Regions from separate parts of the Homo sapiens genome. Here all the other regions are linked to region 7. Evidence: promoter capture Hi-C in 16 types of primary human blood cells and fetal thymus (Javierre and others, 2016). All regions are on one chromosome and are shown on one strand. Each heading gives the region's core, a stretch centred on a gene start or on the middle of the fragment in contact. The rest is flanking DNA. Distances are from core to core; before and after follow the strand shown. Region 1 overlaps SLFN14 (schlafen family member 14). Region 2 overlaps SLFN13 (schlafen family member 13). Region 3 overlaps SLFN12L (schlafen family member 12 like). Region 4 overlaps AP2B1 (adaptor related protein complex 2 subunit beta 1). Region 5 overlaps AP2B1 (adaptor related protein complex 2 subunit beta 1). Region 6 overlaps AP2B1 (adaptor related protein complex 2 subunit beta 1). Region 7 holds the start of NLE1 (notchless homolog 1).

Region 1 (2,742 bases), core at 205-2,704, 410 kb before region 7:
TTAGAAAACAGCAGTATCAAAGATAATTTCCAGTTGGGTGCGGTGGCTCACATCTGTAATCCCAGCACTTTGGGAGGGAGGCCCAGGCAGGAGGATTGCAACGTAGCAAGACTCCATCTCTTAAAAAAAAAAAATAGCAAGAACAAAAAAGAAAAAAAAAATTAGCCAGGCTTGGTGGCACGTGTCTGTAGTCTCATCTACTAGGGAGACTGAAGTTGGAGAATCACTTGAACTGGGAGGTTGAGGTTGCAGAGAACTATTATTGTGCCACTGCACTCCAACCTGCATAACAGAGCAAGATTCTATCTCAAAAACAAACAAACAAAACTAAAAAACCCAAAACAAACAACAACAACAAATATACATATAGAGAGAGATGACTTCCAACATTAAAATATATCTCCAGTAATTGATAGTTTTGAAGAAAATATTGTAATCTTTGGAATTCTTATTAATATAGAAACAATATTTCTGTCCTGATTATAGGAACTCCTTTCTTTTATTGTTTGGAGCACAGAGGGGCTGCTGAAATGGAGAGTCTCAAGACTGATACTGAAATGCCGTATCCTGAGGTAATAGTAGATGTGGGCAGAGTGATTTTTGGAGAAGAAAACAGGAAGAAGATGACCAACAGCTGTTTGAAAAGATCTGAGAATTCTAGAATTATCCGGGCTATATGTGCACTGTTAAATTCTGGAGGTGGTGTGATCAAAGCAGAGATTGATGATAAAACCTATAGTTACCAATGCCATGGGCTGGGACAGGATTTGGAAACTTCTTTTCAAAAGCTCCTTCCTTCAGGTTCACAGAAATACCTTGACTACATGCAGCAGGGGCACAATCTCCTGATTTTTGTGAAGTCATGGAGCCCAGATGTTTTCAGCCTTCCACTAAGGATTTGCAGCTTGCGCTCCAATTTGTATCGGAGAGATGTGACTTCTGCTATCAACTTGAGTGCTAGCAGTGCCCTGGAGCTTCTCAGAGAGAAGGGGTTTAGAGCCCAAAGAGGAAGACCAAGGGTGAAGAAGTTGCATCCTCAGCAGGTTCTCAATAGATGCATTCAGGAAGAGGAAGATATGAGGATATTGGCCTCAGAATTTTTTAAAAAGGACAAACTCATGTATAAGGAGAAACTCAACTTTACTGAGTCAACACATGTTGAATTTAAAAGGTTCACCACCAAAAAAGTCATACCTCGGATTAAGGAAATGCTGCCTCATTATGTTTCTGCATTTGCCAACACTCAAGGGGGATATGTCCTCATTGGGGTGGATGATAAGAGCAAAGAAGTGGTTGGATGTAAGTGGGAAAAAGTGAATCCTGACTTACTAAAAAAAGAAATCGAAAACTGCATAGAAAAATTGCCTACATTCCACTTCTGCTGTGAGAAGCCAAAGGTAAATTTCACTACAAAAATCCTGAATGTGTACCAAAAAGATGTCCTGGATGGTTATGTCTGTGTGATTCAAGTGGAGCCCTTCTGTTGCGTGGTGTTTGCAGAGGCCCCAGATTCCTGGATCATGAAAGACAATTCTGTCACACGGCTGACAGCTGAGCAGTGGGTGGTCATGATGCTGGATACTCAGTCAGGTAAAGGGAAGTGAAGTCATTGTCCCCATCAGCAGGGAGGAACCCCTTTCTCTGCCTTTTGTGGGTATTTGATCACATATGTTAGTTAAAAAATAGAAATTTATTTTTCTTATAAGTGTTCTCCCATTACAGTGTTCCTTATCTAACATTTTTAGTTCCAAAGACTCAGAATATAAACTGAGGTCAAGAAATGTTTGGATTCTATGGCCTAAACAACTTTTTTTTCTTTAGACTCTGTCACCCAGGCTGGAGTGCAGTGGTGTGACCTCGGCTCACTGCAAACTCCACCTCCCAGGTGCAAGTGATTCTCGTGCTTCAGCCTCCCAAGTAGCTGGGATTACAGGCACACACCACCATGTCGGCTAATTTTTGTATTTTTAATAGAGATGGGGTTTTGCCATGTTGCCCAGGCTGGTCTTGAACTTCTAACCTCAAGTGATCAACTCACCTCCACCTCCCAAACTGCTGGGATTACAGGTGTGAGCCACCACTCCTGGCCAGCCTAAGCAACTTTTAAAGGAAAGTTACAGTATGCCATCAGCAATGAGTTAGGAAAGGTCTCCTTTTATTGTCTATAAACCTGTTGAAAAAATTGTGCAGGCTGATCATCCCAGTCAAAATTGGAATAGCCTCATTTTAGAGATGATATTCTAGAGAAACACTGTTTAAGAATAACTCTGAGGCTGGGCGCAGTCCTAGCACTTTGGGAGGCCAAGGTGGGCAGATTGCCTAAGCCCAGGAGTTTGAGACCAGCCTGGCCAAAATAGCGAAGCCCTATCTCTCCCCCAAATATAAAAATTAGCCAGGCGTGGTGGTGTATGCCTGTAGTCCCAGCTACATGGGAGGCTGAGGTGGGAGGATTGCTTGAGCCTGGGAGGTGGAGGTTGTAGTCAGCCAAGATCACTCCACTGCACTCCAGCCTAAGCAACAGAGCGAGACCCCGTCTCAAAAAAATAAATAAATAAAAATAAAAAAATAAAAATAAATGACTCCACTACTCCACTAATTCTTTCAAGCAAAACATTGTTGACAAATTTGAATTGTTTCAGTAACATTAGGAGCTAATAACCTTAAGCCACTGGGCTTAGGGCACCACCAAGTGGGGGAAAATGATGCAAAAGGAGATGCTAGGGCAAGGGGGTGCTGGGGGGA
Region 2 (2,762 bases), core at 121-2,620, 300 kb before region 7:
CACGGAAGGTGTTTTTATATTTTTGTTAAATCTTGGAGTGGTGATCCTTTCCTTAAAGATGGTTCTTTCAATTCCCGCATTTGCAGCCTTAGTTCTTCATTATACTGTAGATCTGGCACCTCTGTGCTTCACATGAATTCAAGACAGGCATTCGATTTCCTGAAGACCAAGGAAAGACAGTCCAAATATAATCTGATTAATGAAGGGTCTCCACCTAGTAAAATTATGAAAGCTGTATACCAGAACATATCTGAGTCAAATCCTGCATATGAAGTTTTCCAAACTGACACTATTGAATATGGTGAAATCCTATCTTTTCCTGAGTCTCCATCCATAGAGTTTAAACAGTTCTCTACAAAACATATCCAACAATATGTAGAAAATATAATTCCAGAGTACATCTCTGCATTTGCAAACACTGAGGGAGGCTATCTTTTTATTGGAGTGGATGATAAGAGTAGGAAAGTCCTGGGATGTGCCAAAGAACAGGTTGACCCTGACTCTTTGAAAAATGTAATTGCAAGAGCAATTTCTAAGTTGCCCATTGTTCATTTTTGCTCTTCAAAACCTCGGGTAGAGTACAGCACCAAAATCGTAGAAGTGTTTTGTGGGAAAGAGTTGTATGGCTATCTCTGTGTGATTAAAGTGAAGGCATTCTGTTGTGTGGTGTTCTCGGAAGCTCCCAAGTCATGGATGGTGAGGGAGAAGTACATCCGCCCCTTGACAACTGAGGAATGGGTAGAGAAAATGATGGACGCAGATCCAGGTAAGAGGGAACCAGATTCTCCCTTCCTGACCTTTCTACCTCTTCCCCAATACCACTTCCTTCTTTATTCTCTAAGCTTGACCTTCTCACACCCACTGAAATTTACTTTCTCTAAATCTCCATGCTTTTCATAGATGGGAAGTTTTATTGGGTGAGAAAAAGCCAAAATGAGATATTTTGTGAATGGTGATTTCCCACAAAAGAAGAAGCAAAGGAAAAACCTTGGAAATTGGTTCCTTTAATAAAACCATTGAATTGGAATCTGTTGGAGCCTCATAATAGTGATTAGCTTGTACCTCAGATTAGCATAAAATCAACTCTGGGAGACAAGAGCTAGTGTTGGTTGAGGTTTGTTTAAGTTGAGGTTAGTGGAGGTGCGTGCACAGGGATATAAAAACCTGATGATTATAACTTAAAGAGAGTTTTTTTCCACTGCAATTCAAGCAAAGAACTATTCAAACATGGAAGAGGGGGCATTATATTGCATGGGGAAACACCATTCAAGGATCAGAAAAAGGGCTTTTAATGATGAATCTTTGGGAACCTGGACATAGAGTCAAGAAAGGGTAAAGCATCTGACTTTGTGGCCTGACTTGTACCATGTTAGATGAAATTTAGACACAGCCTTGTACAGCCTATTCCAATAGCGAGACATGAAATCATATAGTGTAAATTAAAATGTTCTTTCTTTCAGAGTTTCCTCCAGACTTTGCTGAGGCCTTTGAGTCTCAGTTGAGTCTATCTGACAGTCCTTCACTTTGCAGACCAGTGTATTCTAAGAAAGGTCTGGAACACAAAGCTGATCTACAACAACATTTATTTCCAGGTACTGACTGCCAGTTTTTACATCAGGAGAGAAGGAAGTCATTTAATACATTTCGTGGAAAACAAATCCATGAAAGATTGTGTCCTGCAGATCCAGGTGTACACAGTGACAATGCCACAAGCCTCTTGGGGATGAGTTTCAGGTGCCTTTAGAAATCATCTGGCCCATTGGTTGCCACATCTGGCTGATTATTAGAAATGCCATGGAAGGTAGTTAAACATGCAGATCTCCAGGCCCACACCAAGAACTTATGAACGCTTAATTTCCAGGGGAAAGGCCTAGCCATATGCATTTGGGCAAGCTTCCCAAATTATTCTGATGCCCTGCTGGGTTTGGAAACCAGTGATCTAGTACAACTACAAGGGGAACAATGGAATAACTAGCCACTTCTGGTCTACTTTTCAAGGATGGAGGAATTATGTCTGTAAAAGGAATAAAAACATTCACCTGGTAGAATATAAGAATATAGAAAAACCACAAATAATTTCTCTTTGGAAGAGGCTAGAGGGAACGACTCGCTAATGCTTCAAAGGTGGCACCAAATAATAATTCAAGCCCATAGACAATGTTATGTAACCCCTCTCCCTGCTGCCCAAACATTTTTTAGCAAGGTTTTTTTCTCGGAGTTCCTACTTACAAAATGAAACCTAGATTTTTCAAGGAGGGAAATGGCTTAACTTCATACATTGAACATATTAAGTATGAGATTTGACAAAAGAATATGATACACAAATATCCTACGTATGTCCAAACATTTATGAAGGGCAAGGTAATTCATATATTAGGCCTTCCTTAGGTCTGTTTACCACCAAATAGTTTCTTTACTTACCTGAGAGCTTTATAGTCATTAGCTTATCAGAAAAGTTTTTAAACATTCCACATTAAGAATCCAAGGTGCAAGAGTAATTGAATACATGGCTTTCACTTTCTCAGGCTCAGTAAATTGCATTTCAGTTGACATGCTCCACTGTCCATGAGATACATAGAAGGGTGACATCATTCATTTTACCAGATTTGTAGGTTGTGGGTTAAAGAGATATGCACCAGGCAAGGCGTGGTGGCTCATGCCTGTAATCCCAGCACTTTGGGAGGCCGAGGCGGGCAGATCATGAGGTCAGGAGATCGAGACCATCCTGGCCAACATGGGGAAACCCTGTCTCTACTAAAAAT
Region 3 (2,700 bases), core at 172-2,671, 370 kb before region 7:
TTTGTCGAAGATCAGATGGTTGTAGATGTGTGGTGTTATTTCTTAGGTCTCTGTTCTGTTTCATTGGTTGATGTATCTGTTTTGGTACCAGTGCTATGCTGTTTTGGTTACTGTAGGCTTGTAGTATAGTTTGAAGTTAGGTAGTGTGATGCCTCCAGCTTTGTTCTTTTTGCTTAGGATTGTCTTGGCTATATGGGCTCTTTTTTGGTTCCATATGAAATTTACAGTAGTTTTTTCTAATTCTGCAAAGAAAGTCACTGGTAGCTTGATGGGAATAGCATTGAATCTATAAATTACTTTGGGCAGTATGGCCATTTTCACAATATTGATTCTTCCTATCCATGAGCTTGGAATGTTTTTCCATTTATTTGTGTCCTCTCTTATTTCCTTAAGCAGTGGTTTGTAGTTCTTGAAGAGGTCCTTCACGTCCCTTGTAAGTTGTATTCCTAGGTATTTTATTCTCTTTGTAGCAATTGTGAATGGGAGTTCACTCATGATTTGGCTCTGTGCTTGTCTGTTGTTGGTGTATAGGAATGCTTGTGATTTTTTTTTCTCTGCCCCAGCCCTAAAATCAGCCATTTCTCCAAGAAGCTCTGGTTCCTTTTACTGAAGAATGGCAAAAACCAAGATCTGTGCCCTCACTGCTATTTGTTTGTTTTCTTAATTTGTTTATGTTGACTATTCTGGCTTTTGCGGGATGTCACTGTATATGACTGCAGTGCCCATGGCACACATTAGCCATGTGTAGAAAATTAGTGCTTGCTATGTGGCTGGTGCAAATTGAGATGACAAGTAAGTGTAAAATAGACACTGGGATTCAAAAACTTAGTATGACAAAGAATGAAAAATTACATGAATCATTTTTAAATGGATTACGTGTCAAAATGATAATATTTTGGAAATATTTAGTTGAATAAAATATTTTATTAAAAGTAAAGCTGCTTATTTATTTTTACCTTTTAAAAATGTGCTTACTATATTAAAATCACATTTATGTATTGCATTATATTTCTGTTGGATGGCACTGGTATATGGATCATTAAAATAGGTCTGCTCATTGTTAAAATTAATCTGCTCATCATTAGACTAGACCAGTGGCTCTCAATAGAGTGGAGGGGGTGGTGGATTTTGCCCTCCAAGGGACATAATATCTGGAGATATTTCCGGTTGTCACCCCTTGAGGGGAGTGTGTTAATGGTACCTGGTGGATAGAGGCCAGGGATACTGCTGAACATCCTAGAAGGTACAGGATAGCCCCCCACAACAAACAATTTTCCAGCCACAAATCTCAATAGTGTCAAGGCTGACAAATCCTGTACTACAAAAAGAAGGAGTATAGTTCTATCCTTCTTAAACACGTATTCCAGAATGGAAAGGCAGAACTGGTTAGAGTTTTAATCTGATCAAAGTGATGGAATGTTTTGCTTTAGGACAACTAATGCCTGGTGCACTGAGGTTCCTATATGCTGGGGAGCTGGAAAATGGAATGAAGAATCTTAGAGGATTCCATGCCCCTAGTAGGGACCCCAACCTTTTTGATGCTGAAGTAATAGAGTTGCAAAAACTGTTTGTTCTTGTGAAGTGGTAGTGATATGTGAAGGACAACTAAGGGAAATAGTTTCCTCAGAAAGATAAACTATCTTCAGTGGATATTAGAAAATAAGGATATTAATGTCTCTCAAATTCTATGGTCCTATATTGATCAGTTTGAAGATGTTACTAAGTGTTTATATAAATCTAGTAGAGGGGGTCTCTAAGAATCCCAGGGAAAAAATAAGAAATTAAGCCCAAAACATCCAATTCTTTAAATATGCTAACTCTTTAAGAAACACTGGCGGGGTGCGGTGGCTCACGCCTGTAATCTCAGCACTTTGGGAGGCAGAGGCGGGTAGATCACGAGGTCAGGAGTTCGAGACCAGCCTGGCCAACATAGTGAAACCCTGTCTCTTCTAAAAATACAAAAATTAGCCGGGTGTGGTGGTGGGCTCCTGTAATCCCAGTTACTCATGCGGCTGGGTCAGGAGAATCGCTTGAACCTGGGAGATGGAGGTTGCAGTGAGCCAAGATCGTGCCACTTCACTCCAGCCTGGGCAACAAAGAGCAAAACTCCATCTCAAAAAAAAAAAAAAAAAAAAAAAAAATTGCCGGGCGTGGTGGCCGCTCCTGCAATCCCAGCTACGCAGAAGGCTGAGGCGAAAGGATGGCTTGAGTCTGGGAGGCGCAGGTGGCAGTGAGTTGAGATCACGCCACTGCACTCCAACCTGGGGTGACAGAACGAGAATAGGTCTCAAAAACAAACAAGCAAAAAATCAAAACAAACAAATAAACTAAAACAAAAGAAACACTCTCCAGGCATAGAGAAAATAATATAAACTCAGTGGTAATCCTATACACATGACTCTCTCTCAAACTTGCACAAATATAGTAAATGAACTAACGATTTTAATCTTCAGAACCCTGGATCTTGCTTTCCAAGTGCCTGTCCCGCCGGCGTCGGGTCTGAGCGGCTCCCTGTGCTCGGATGGTTTGTGGGCAACCGCTCCTTTCCCCCACCGCCGCAGTCCACACTCAGCGTTCTGGGGAAGAGGCTGGGTCGGAACGGAGCCATCGCCGCTGGAGTATTCGGGGCCCTTTTCATCGGGTACTGCATCTACTTCGACCGCAAAAGACTGAAGTGACCCCAACTTAAAGAATAGGCGT
Region 4 (2,857 bases), core at 217-2,716, 450 kb before region 7:
GTTTTAAAAATCTTTTAAATTATGGCCAGAGAGGAAGGTGCAATCCAGATCTTCAAGAACCACAAGAGTGGGAAAAACCAAATCTCATTATATCTAGCTACAATGGGGAGAGAACAGTATATGAAGGATGATCTTCCATCAGAATGTTAAAGTCTGGAGGAGAACATAAACGTAGGTAGGGAGCAGGCGCGTATTACCTCATTTACCCACGCTCGGCTTTACAGATTAAGAAATGAGGCTCAAAGTTCACAGAGTCAGTGACAAAGTTGGGCTTAGCACTGTGTCTCCTGACTCTTGAATGCAAAGGTTCTCAGCCCTGGCCACACACTAATATTACCTGAGAAATACTAAATATAGCAAAGTACAGGCTCCACTCTGGGCCAAATAAATCATAATGTCAAAGAGAACTCATATTTATACCTTTAAGAGCTCCACCAAGTGACTCTAACGCACACCCAATGTTGAGAATCACTACTTTAATCAGTACTTTAATAAATCAGTGGGCTTTAAGGCCCTTGCTATTCAATCAAACAAGAATAATCTTGAAACCAAGAATGGTACACAATGGAGTCATTTCCAAAGGTACAATCTTGAATGACTGCTTAGGCTCCGCACTGTAAACTGTCAGGGACTGTAACCACTATTTTAAGGCCTGGTCTCCAGGCTCACCTATCTGCAAGAAGCCGGAACCAAAATAAAAAAGAAAGTAACAACCCTAATATTGTTTAAAAGAAACGGAAAAAAAACACTAAGTCCATGAAAAAGAGGTTGACTACTCCCATCTCAACTTTCCATCTACATCCTCCAGCTCATCTACCATACTGCCTCAAAAGACTTTCCTCCACCTTCAAGACTGTTCCTGTCGTTCCTTTCAACCAGATCTCATTTACCAGCATAGAAACAGTGGGGACAGTCTCCGCTTCCGGAGGTCGCTACTGCTGCCTCAGTGGCCCCGGAGCGGGGGCGCCCAGGGGTCCTTCGCCCCCGGCCACGGCCCCCACAACGGGGCTTCGCCGCCACCTGTGTCCGAGCTGGACCGTGCAGGCGCCAGGCTCCTCTCCGAAAGGCGCACGAGACAGCTTTCTTCTCCTGGTTCCACAATGGCCTCCTGGCATAGGGCATCGGGGTTATCTCCTTCATGCAGAGTGACATGGATCACGAAGCAGCATATGGCTTCTTCCTGCTGGGCGGCCTGTGTGCGGTGTGGGGCAGCGCCTGCGGGGCCTGGCAGCGCTGCGGGGGCCCATGCAGCTGACGCTAGGGGGCGCAGCTGCGGGCGCTGTACTCGCCACCAGCCCGCTCTGGGTGTGCGCCGCCGTGGGCTTCTACACCGGGCAGCTGGAGCTGGACGTGAAGCTGGTGCTCGAGGGCGACGGGGCGGCCTCCGCGGAAGGCCCTGATGAGGCAGGCTGGCCGCCACCCGAGTGAGCGACATGGCCGCCGGGCCTGGCAGGCGCGGGATGACGGCGCCCGAGGACTGGGACATTAAAACCTGACCTCCCCTCCTCCAAAAAAAAAAAAAAGAAAGAAATAGTGGGGACAAACACTACGTGATTTGCCTGAAACCATTATGTGGAAAGGATGAAATTAGTAAGACACAGAAGTAGAGCACTTTTTCGTTTCAATATCCATGGCCAATAAGGCAAAAAAATTGTTCCAAAATTTCTATTTAATCAACAGCTACAAAAGTAGCATAGCAAGAAAAGCTGGGCCCTTTAAAGAGTCATTCTTCATAGGACTCTTCACCATGTCCCATCCTGCCAAATCCAGCTCTTAGAGTTCCTCTCATTCACTTCCGGGAACAGTGAAGGACAAACGGCGGGGTTTCAGAAAGTCTGAATTGTGAACAGCAGCAGGTGTTATAGAATCAAAGCAGGATGTAACAGAAATTATTCCAATTCCAAAAGCATAAATTTAAAGAATATGTTTCAGTGGCAGTTCTGGTGGGTGTTGCAGGAAGTACAGGGAACACAATCTATCAATTTTTTTTAAGTATGATGTTTATTAGCAGTGATTCAATCTGCAGTCTCAAACTTTTACAAATGCCTGAATTAAAAAAAGGTCACCAGGACACTTTTCAAGAGTAGGTTTGAAGAATTAGGAGAGTTTTAAAATTATAACTATTTAATTGTAATTGTATCCCTTTATATAATTATAGACATTTTGTTCGTCAAAGCACACAAAATGCTAACAGAAGAAGAAATAAACATATTTCCAAAAGAAAATCAGAAAAAGCTGAGACTGAATGACAAGTGGCTAATGGCTTTTGTGAGGTGTAAGTAATAAAAATAAGGAGGAAAAAGTTGGGCAGGACCAAAGAGGGGTACTAAAAGAGGCAAAGTCATATATTCTACAACTTTATTAAATTCCTATATTTTCTCCCTCCTCCTCCCCCCAATCAAATCTACCAAGCACTGTTAGCAGCTAGCAGTAGTTCTCAATCATGGCTGCACATTAAAATAATCTGGGGAGCTTTCTTTTTAATTTTTTTCTTTTGAGACAGGGTCTCTCTCTGTTGCCTAGGCTGGGGTACAGCGGCACAATCACGACTCACTGCAGCCTCAACCTCCTGCACTCAAGTGATCCTCCCACCTCAGCCTCCCAAATAGCTGGGACTACAGGTGTGCACCACCGTACAGGGCTAATTTTTAAATTTTTTTTCATAGAGATAGGGTCTTACCATGTTGCCCAGGCTGGTCTCAAACTCCTGCACTCAAACAATCCTCCTGTCTCAGCCTCCCAATGTGCTGGGATTACAGGCATAAGCCACCATGCCTGGCCACCTGGAGAACCTTTAAAATCCTCACACCCAGACCATATCCAGGACAACTGAAATCAGGCTGAGGTTGAGACCCAG
Region 5 (2,842 bases), core at 148-2,647, 470 kb before region 7:
CTAGAATATTCCATTTTTTCCCCATCTTCTTCCTTAGAATGAGAGGTAAAACTACCTAGTGAGCCAACACATCTCATTATGAAAAGAAAGTCTGATTACATAGTAACAAGGTTTACAAAAAATAAAATTCATTACTTAAGTGGTTTAAGATATGATTTAACAAAATTCAAGTACTCTCAAAGCCAAAACACTACAAATAAATATCGATAAACAAATAAAAGGCATGCCTATAACCATCACAGTTATTTGGACCATGGCCCCTAAAATTCATTAAAGCAAGCTGCAACTTGAACAAAATAAAACACTTATTATCACACCACTTATGATCTCCCCATTTCTAAGAGTAAAGTATTCCCCAGCCAAATTACAGCCTTGAGGTCATCTTAAAGTGACAAATGAGCCTTGATATACTGGCAAACCACCAAAACAACACACAACAGATCCAGCTTTCAGGAAGTTGCTGTTGAGAACTACTTTAAACGTACACCCTTGAATAATTACCTTGTAAAAGTAGTAAGTAGTACTCTTAGATTTAGCTTCATTTGTGGGTAAGTTGCCCTCAGAGCTTTAAAAAATTTAATCTTTAAAATTCTTCATCCTAAAAGTTTTAATCTTAACCTTAAAATTTTAATCTTATAAAATTAAAAAGTAAATTTTGCCACTGAAATACTAACCCTTCTAAAATTATTAATATCCGGCACTACAATCACTGTACAATATAGAATATATGTTTCTGCTGGGCATGGTGGCTCACTCACGCCTGTAATCCCAGCACTTTGGGAGGCTGAGGCAGGCGGATCACTTGAGGTCAGGAATTCAAGACCAGCATGGCCAACATGGTGAAACCCTGTCTCTACTAAAAATACAAAACTTAGCCAGGCATGATGGCATGTGCCTGTACTCTCAGCTACTCAGAAGGCTGAAGTGGGAGAATTATTTGAGCCCAGGAGATGGAGGTTGCAGTAAGCCGAGATTGTGCCACTGCACTCCAGCCTACGCGACAGAGCAAGACTTTGTCTCTTAAGAAAAAAAAAAGGATATGTGTTTGTTATTATTAGGGGCTTACTCCATATGAGGACCAGTATTAAGTGCTTTGCAAGCCCTCTGTCCTTTAATATTCACAACAATCCTACGATAGAAGCACTATTTGTAATCTCCACTTTGTAGATGAGGATGCTAAAATTTAGAGACACCACTCGTCTAAGAAATAGCAGAACCAGGATACAAACCCAAATCTATTTGGTTCTAGAGCCTGAGTTTCAACCACTATGCTATGGTGACTGGATGAAAAATGCCATTTCATGGTTGTAAAGCACTTTTCTGTTTTCGAGCTACCTTCAAACAGAGTAGACTGATGCATTATAAAAGGAAGTGACTAAACACAATTTGGTATTCCGGACTGAATCCTGGAATAGCGAAAGGACATTAGTGTTGAAACTGGTGAAATTCTACTTTGGTTAATAGTAACATCCCAATGCTAATTTCCTAGTTTTGGCAAATGTACCACGGTTACGTAAGATGTTAACATTAGGTGAAACTGACTGAAGCGTATATGAAAACTTTCTGTACTGTCTTTGTAACTTTTCTGTAAATTTAAAATTGTTCCTCTAAAAAATGAGGTATTTTGGCAGGGCGCGGTGGCTCATGCCTGTAATCCCAGCACTTTGGGAGGCCGAGGCGGGCGGATCACGAGGTCAGGAGATTGAGACCATCCTGACTAACACGGTGAAACCCCCCGTCTCTACTAAAAATACAAAAAAAATTAGCCAGGCGTAGTGGTGGGCGCCTGTAGTCCCAGCTACTCAGAAGTGTGAGGCATGAGAATGGCATGAACCCGGGAGGCGGAGCTTGCAGTGAGCCGAGATCGCGCCACTGCACTCCAGCCTGGGCGACTGAGCGAGACTCCGTCTCCAAAAAAAAAAAAAAAAAAAAAAAAAAAAAAAAAAAAAAAGAGATATTTTTTAAAACCTAAGTTCATAATAATATAAAACGACGTAATGATTTTTTAAAAGTGAAAATACACAGAAAATGATTTCCACAAAGCACATTATAAAAGGAAAACAAAAAGTGTTTGCTTTCTCTATAAGTAGAGACAGAAATACACTCAGACCAACTGGTGGGAAATTCAAGAGCTGGGAAGTTGGCCTCATATCAAAGCAGCCCCCAATGATTCCACTTACCCAAACTTCAATCCTGCAAAAATTAACAGCAGCTCCTTTTATAATATGAAACACAATTTGAGGAACTCAGATACAGACTGAATGTATTACCTTCAATGTTACTCTTATCAAGTGCTCACCACATACTGACATTATCATATGTGCCTAAAATTCTGCCAGCTCTAACTCCTTCATGGACATTTGATATGAAAAGTATTACACATTTTAAATTTCATTTATGTATAATATTTTAATTTTGTAATTGTTACTTACTAATATATATTTAAGGATAACAACAATCCTATAATTAACGTACTAAATAAAGTTAAGTCATTAAGTTTTTCTATGCATTCTGGGCCTACCTTTAATAGGCAGTTTAACATAGCCTACATGAATACCAAATATATTCTGACAAAAATTCTTAGAAAGAGATCTAGACAGATGGCATTTTTTCAATATTTTATCATCTTAGGTTGACAACAAATCACCACACAAGTAAACTTCCTAATGCCTAAATGAAGATTATAACAACCGGAAGGTGCATAATGTTAGGCCACTTCCTCAAGAATAGCTGCAGTTTATTAAGCATTTACCATATATCAGGCAAAGTTTAAAATTTTAAATACATTATTCTTTCATCTTCAAAATAATTCACTAAAATCGGCATTATTACCTCAGTTTTA
Region 6 (2,956 bases), core at 176-2,675, 500 kb before region 7:
CTGCATTTATCTTATTAACTTAGAAAATTCAGTTTGTCTTTATGGACTAGTAATATCTTAAAGGTATTCAACTTTATAATACATAGTTTAATAATATACTCATCAAAATAAAATGCTTTTTCTTCAAATTATTTCTCCCATATGTAATGTAAACAATTTAACCAAATGACCAAAAAGAAAAATTCCTATAGGGATTCACAAAATTCAAAAATCTCAGCCAGGCACGGTGGCTCAGTAATCCTAGCACTTCAGGAGGCCAAGGTAGGCTGATCACTTGAGGCCAGGGGTTTGAGACCAGCCTGGCCAAGATGGCAAAATCCCATCTCTACAAAGGGTACAAAAATTAGCCAGGCATGGTGGCAGATGTCTGTAATCCCAGCTACTTGGGAGGCTAAGGAGGGAGAATCACTTGAACCCAGGAGGCGGAGGAGGCTGCAGTGAGCTGAGATTGCACCACCGCACTCCAGCCTGGGTAACAGAGTGAGACTCCATCTCAAAAAAAAAAAAAAAAATTATATATATATGAAAAAAATTTGAGAGTTCCTCTACAGATTATTCAAAATGCTGCAATATGGCAAACTACTGGAGATAGAGTTACTGGATCAAAGTCTAAACAGACACTAACTTGAAAAATACAATCCTATGAGAAATGAGTGCAAATCTCCCAAGGCTGAAAAGTCAGGAGTAGGGAAGAATCTCCTAACTGCTCAAACTCTGTCGTTCTGAGGGATGACCTGTTAGGCCTACTGTAAGCCAGTCCTCACCAACTGCCTCACATTTTACATGGAGGCCACAGTAATTCAGACCGTCAAGACCGAGATAAATAAAAATACAGGACCTTTTTGTAATCTTAAGTTGCCATTAAATGTTTGGTGACTCAGATAATTTGGCTTTGGATCTACTGTACTGCTAGACCCATAGGCCTTCCTCAGGGGAAGAGGTCCCAAAACAATACTTACCAGGCCAGCACTAAAACAGTAATTCTTAAACTATAATGTGCATCAACATTTTAACATACCAGGAATGCCACTGAAAGTGCAGAACCCAGGGGCCATACTTCAGAGATTCTGATTCATTACATCAAAAGTAGGGCCTAGTAATTAGTATTTTTAACAAGCAGCCCAAATGATTCTGATGATGGTGGCCCCTAGTTCATAGACAGAAAAACATGAAGACTTCTATTCCATGTATCACAAAGAATAATTACTAACGTCTAGACATTTTTTTGTTTTGTTTTGTTTTGTTTTTTGAGACAGAGTCTAGGTCTTCTTGCCCAGGCTGGAGTGTAATGGCACGATCTTGGCTCACTGCAACCTCTGCCTCCCGGGTTCAAGTGATTCTCCTGCCTCAGCCTCCCGAGTAGTTGGGATTACAGGCGCATGCCACCACGCTCGGCTAATTTTATATTTTTAGTAGAGATGGGGTTTCTCCATTTTGGTCAGGCTGGTCTCGAACTCCTGACCTCAGATGATCTACCTGCCTCGGCTTCCCAAAGTGCTGGGATTACAGGCATAAGCCACCATGCCCGGCCTTTGTTTGTATTCTTTACTCAGTTGAACTGAATATTGTATTGAATTTCTGTGTAACAGGTAAGAGAAAAAGATAAATTTTTGAAATGAAGCCTCAGATTCAAGGGTTGGGTTTTTCCCCCTAACTAATAATATTTTTAATTATACTCCCATTTTACTTAAAAGCACTAAGATTTCACATATACTTCACTTAATTCTCAGCACAGGTAAAGAACAGTATTAATTAACTCTACTATAGAGACAGAAGAAAAGCAGTATGAAAGAAATTTGCTCAGTCATGTCCAGAATCAGTGGAAGTAGCATCATCAGAACCTCACTACCCAATTTAAGTTAACATGTGCTCGCTTCGGCAGCACATATACCAATTTAAGTTAACACAATTCAGCCGACCACATTGCATCCTAAACTTAAATTGGTACTCACTAGCCATAAATATTTAGGTTCTTATTTCACAAACTTGGGGAAAAAACAGAAAACTTCCAGGTAAAAAGACTTACATAGGCATACTTATTCTTTTTTTCTTTCTTTTTTTTTTTCCGAGACAGAGTCTTGCTGTATTACCCAGCCTGGAGTGCAGTGGCATGATCTCAGCTCACTGCAACCTCTGCCTCCTGGGCTCAAGCGATCCTCCCACCTCAACCTCCCAAGTAGCTGGGATTACAGGCGTGTGCCACTATGCTCCGCTAATTTTTGTATTTTTTGTAGAGATGGGATTTTGCCATGTTGCACAGGCTGGTCGAATTCCTGAGTTCAAGTGATCCGCCCGCCTTGGCCTCCCAAAGTGCTGGAATTGCAGGTGTGAGCCACAGCACCCAGCAGCATACTTACTGTTTTATGATAACTTCTCAGACTTCATTAATTAATTGGACAGAAAAAGCAAGCCTCAGCCAGGCTCTGTGGCTCACACTTATAATCCCAGTGCTTTGGGAGACCAAGGCAGGAGGATCACATTAGATCAGGAGTTCAAGACCAGCCTGGCCAACATGGTGAACCCTCATCTCTACTGGAAAAAAAAAAAAAAAAAATTAGCTGGGCGTGGTGGCATGCACCTGTAATCCCAGCTACTCAGGAAGCTGAGGTAGGAGAATTGTTTGAACCCGGGAGGTGGAGGTTGCAGTGAGCCGAGATCACGCCACTGCACTCCAGCCTGGGTGACAGAGCTAGACTCAGTCTTGAAAAAAGGCAAGCCTCGAGAAGTTGCTTATTATTTATAGTATGAAATAATCATCCACAAAGACCTTAAAACTAGCAAACACACATATACATATGGGCTTATGCTCAATATTGCTTCAGGCAGGGAATAGGTATTCTCCAAGTCATTCTTAACCTTCAGACTAGAGAGGAAGCATAGCACAGTGGACAAGACCATGGGCAAGACCTAGAGCCAGACTATCTGAGTCTGAGTCCTAGTTCTGCCCCATAATAAT
Region 7 (2,806 bases), core at 191-2,690:
TTCTTTTTTTCCTGCATGTAAGGGAGCCGTCGCAGGGTTTGAGGGTGAAGAGCAGCAGGCCAGATTTTTGGTCTGAAAAGATAACCCTGGCTGCATCGTGGAGAATGGGTAGAAAGAGGCAGGAATGGAAATGGGGGGGCTCATCGGGAGGCTGTTGTAGCGGTCCAGGCAGGTGATGATGGTGACTCTGACCAGAGTGAGGCAGTGGAGATGGGGAGAGCAGATTCAAGCTGTGTTCATGAGGATGACTTGGCAGAGCTTGAGACTGCCTGAGCAGTGGAGGGAGAGAGAGGAGAGTTGGCAAGGGAGATCCTTCGTTTCAGGCAAAAGAGCTCAAGTTCATTGCTGTCTGCTTCAGTTCCTCAGTAATATGGGGAGAAAAGGGTTGTAAGAATTAAATGAGTTATGTGGGAAAGCACTTAGAACAATTCCTGACTTGTTGATGTCATTATCACTATTATTGCTTTACAGCATTGATGATTGTAGAAATGATTTGCTTTTGTACTCGAGTATTATTGAGTTGATCCATTTTATTTATTTATTTATTTATTTATTTATTTATTTATTTATTTATTTATTGAGACAGAGTCTTGCTCTGTCATCCAGGCTGGAGTGCAGTGGTGAGAGCTCGGCTCACTGCAACCTCTGCCTCCCAGGTTCAAGAGAATCTACCACCTCAGCCTCTCCAGTAGCTATGACCACAGGCGCATGCCACCACGGCTGGTTAATTTTTTTGTATTTTTAGTAGAGACCTGGTTTCACCATGTTGGCCAGGCTGGTCTCGAACTCCTGGACTCAAGTGATCTGCTCGCCTGGGCCTTCCAAAGCGCTGGGATTACAGGTGTCAGCCACCACGCCCAGCCTTGACTTGATCCATTTTTAAAAGGATACTAATTTCTAGGCTAGGCGTGGTGGCTCACACCTGTAATCCCAGCACTTTGGGACACTGAGGCTGGGGAGTGGGGGACTTGCTGCTTGAGTTCAGGAGTTTGAGACCAGCCTGGGCAACATAGTGAGACCTCGTCTCTACAAAAAATGAGAAAAAAATAACCGGGCAGGGTGTCATGTGCCTGTAGTCCAGGCTACTCTGAGGCTGAGGTGGGAGGATCGCTGTGCCAGAAAGTTCGAGACTGCAGTGAGCCGTGGTGGCACCACTGCCCTCCAGTCTGGGCGACGGAGTGAAACTCTGTCTCAAAATGAAATTAAATTAAAATGGGGCAAGAATCCCTGTTGTGAAGAGTCAAAAGTTTACTGTGTCCTCTAAGACCCTGGCGAAAAATAAATGTGAAGGCTGTTGAGGGGCGGGAGGAGCACCAGGTAAGCCCATTTCTAATCCCTGAGGCCGTGCGCAGCGGGACGCTTCTCCTCCCCAACAGCAGAGGGCGATGTGGCCGGCGGCGACCCCGCCCGACCACGGAGACGGCGCTCTGTCTGCCGGGCTCTTTCTCCTCCACGTGGGGACGCAGGATGGCGGCAGCAGTGCCGGTGGGTGTGCGTGGATGGGGGCGGGGGGCGTCGCCGCGGGGCGCTAGGGCCCGGGTCCCTGAGGCCTGAGAGAGGCGAAGTGGGGCCCTTCTGGGCGGGCGACCAGACTGACTCCCGCCCCACTTGCTCGCGCAGGACGAGGCGGTGGCGCGCGATGTGCAGCGGTTGCTAGTGCAGTTCCAGGATGAGGGCGGGCAGCTGCTGGGTTCCCCGTTCGACGTGCCCGTGGACATCACCCCGGACAGGCTGCAGCTCGTGTGCAACGCGCTACTGGCCCAGGTAAGTGGCTGGCCAGGGCGGCCTCGCATCTCCACCCCCGGGCGGATGCGGTGGGGGAATCATATTACCGAGGGTCTGCGGTTCATGGTCCCCCGCTAACGGACTGTGGTGACCCACCTGGCGTGAGCTCCCACCTATGTCAGAGATGGAATCAGTGGCATAGCGCTTTACACGCCAACCAAAGGGGTCCACCTGCGGAGAGGGGCCTAGCTTTGAACGCACCGGATGCTGTATTTCATTGATTCTTTGTCACAGTCCCCCAGTCTGGGACACGTTAATATCCCCATTTTACAGCGTGGCCCGGAGGGACTCAGTATTTTGCACGATGCTATGTAGTAGGTAGCAGATTTGGAATTGGAACCCAAAACTATCCGAATACCCATGCTTTTATTTATTTATTTATTTACCTTTTTTTTTTTTTTTTTTGAGACGGAGTCTCACTTTGTCGCCAGGCTGGCAAGCTGGAGTGTAGTGGCGTGATCTCTGCTCACTGCAATCTCTGCCTCCCAGGTTCAAGCGATTCTCCTGCCTCAGCCTCCCGAGTAGCTGGGACTACAGGCGCGCGCCACCACACCCAGCTAATTTTTGTATTTTTAGTGGGGACTGGGTTTCACCACGTTGGCCAGGATGGTCTCGATCTCTTGACCTCGTGATCCTCCCGCCTTGGCCTCCAAAGTGCTGGGGATTACTGGCGTGAGCCACCGCACCCGGCCTTTGCTTTTAACCTTTAAGCCAGTGTGTTTACTGAAGAGCTGCCCTGGGGACAGGGGAGGTCCTTAAAATTGCAGTTCCTGGACCCCATCCCAGCCTTACTAAACCAAACTCTGGGATGAAGCAGAAAGTCTACATTTTTTAACAGGCGTTTTGGGAGCTTTTTACACAAATATAGTGTAGTGTGGTAGTTTGGGAAACACTGCATAATGCTATATGCTAATCCTATCTTGGACGTAAAGAACCTGAATTAATCATTGGCAATAGGACATTGAACTAATTACTTAGTTGTTCTGAGCCTCTGCTTTTGAAAACTGTCAGTGGGAATATT

What was found. Contacts are between HindIII fragments. The CHiCAGO score rates a contact against its expected background, and 5 or more counts as called.
Region 1: a contact is called between a fragment that was not itself captured here and the fragment with the promoter of NLE1 in region 7, in 9 of 17 cell types (non-activated CD4 T cells, naive CD4 T cells, total CD8 T cells and 6 more). The highest score is 14.7, in non-activated CD4 T cells.
Region 2: a contact is called between a fragment that was not itself captured here and the fragment with the promoter of NLE1 in region 7, in 1 of 17 cell types (activated CD4 T cells). The highest score is 5.0, in activated CD4 T cells.
Region 3: a fragment that was not itself captured here is called in contact with the fragment with the promoter of NLE1 in region 7 in 3 of 17 cell types (M2 macrophages, non-activated CD4 T cells and activated CD4 T cells); the score reaches 6.3 in M2 macrophages.
Region 4: a contact is called between a fragment that was not itself captured here and the fragment with the promoter of NLE1 in region 7, in 6 of 17 cell types (non-activated CD4 T cells, activated CD4 T cells, total CD4 T cells and 3 more). The highest score is 11.5, in non-activated CD4 T cells.
Region 5: a fragment that was not itself captured here is called in contact with the fragment with the promoter of NLE1 in region 7 in 3 of 17 cell types (activated CD4 T cells, total CD8 T cells and total CD4 T cells); the score reaches 6.7 in activated CD4 T cells.
Region 6: a fragment that was not itself captured here is called in contact with the fragment with the promoter of NLE1 in region 7 in 4 of 17 cell types (total CD8 T cells, activated CD4 T cells, total CD4 T cells and 1 more); the score reaches 6.9 in total CD8 T cells.

What each region holds. Positions count from the first base shown.
Region 1 is chr17:35,555,851-35,558,592 of GRCh38, reverse strand. SLFN14 (schlafen family member 14) reads left to right here. Exons shown (of 6, transcript NM_001129820.2): 3 at 487-1,590. The coding sequence starts at 531. Among named protein-coding and RNA genes, the nearest start is that of SLFN14, 3.6 kb to the left of the region's middle. The HindIII fragment of the contact is 4,309 bases long and covers 1-2,742 here.
Region 2 is chr17:35,442,619-35,445,380 of GRCh38, reverse strand. It overlaps SLFN13 (schlafen family member 13), which reads left to right. Exons shown (of 6, transcript NM_144682.6): 3 at 1-766; 4 at 1,461-1,592. Among named protein-coding and RNA genes, the nearest start is that of SLFN13, 4.8 kb to the left of the region's middle. The HindIII fragment of the contact is 1,051 bases long and covers 845-1,895 here.
Region 3 is chr17:35,515,075-35,517,774 of GRCh38, reverse strand. All of the region lies in intron 2 of SLFN12L (schlafen family member 12 like), which reads left to right. It also overlaps the pseudogene TOMM20P2. Among named protein-coding and RNA genes, the nearest start is that of SLFN12L, 21 kb to the left of the region's middle. The HindIII fragment of the contact is 4,488 bases long and covers 1-2,700 here.
Region 4 is chr17:35,595,186-35,598,042 of GRCh38, reverse strand. All of the region lies in intron 2 of AP2B1 (adaptor related protein complex 2 subunit beta 1), which reads right to left. It also overlaps the pseudogene LOC100420062. Among named protein-coding and RNA genes, the nearest start is that of AP2B1, 9.3 kb to the right of the region's middle. The HindIII fragment of the contact is 5,699 bases long and covers 1-2,857 here.
Region 5 is chr17:35,615,252-35,618,093 of GRCh38, reverse strand. The region is part of intron 5 of AP2B1 (adaptor related protein complex 2 subunit beta 1); the gene reads right to left. Among named protein-coding and RNA genes, the nearest start is that of AP2B1, 29 kb to the right of the region's middle. The HindIII fragment of the contact is 6,619 bases long and covers 1-2,842 here.
Region 6 is chr17:35,644,143-35,647,098 of GRCh38, reverse strand. The region is part of intron 12 of AP2B1 (adaptor related protein complex 2 subunit beta 1); the gene reads right to left. Among named protein-coding and RNA genes, the nearest start is that of AP2B1, 58 kb to the right of the region's middle. The HindIII fragment of the contact is 3,257 bases long and covers 1-2,956 here.
Region 7 is chr17:35,140,937-35,143,742 of GRCh38, reverse strand. It overlaps NLE1 (notchless homolog 1), which reads left to right and starts at 1,440. Exons shown (of 13, transcript NM_018096.5): 1 at 1,440-1,485; 2 at 1,621-1,764. The coding sequence starts at 1,468. RefSeq lists an enhancer at 1,132-2,009. The HindIII fragment of the contact is 3,765 bases long and covers 1-2,806 here.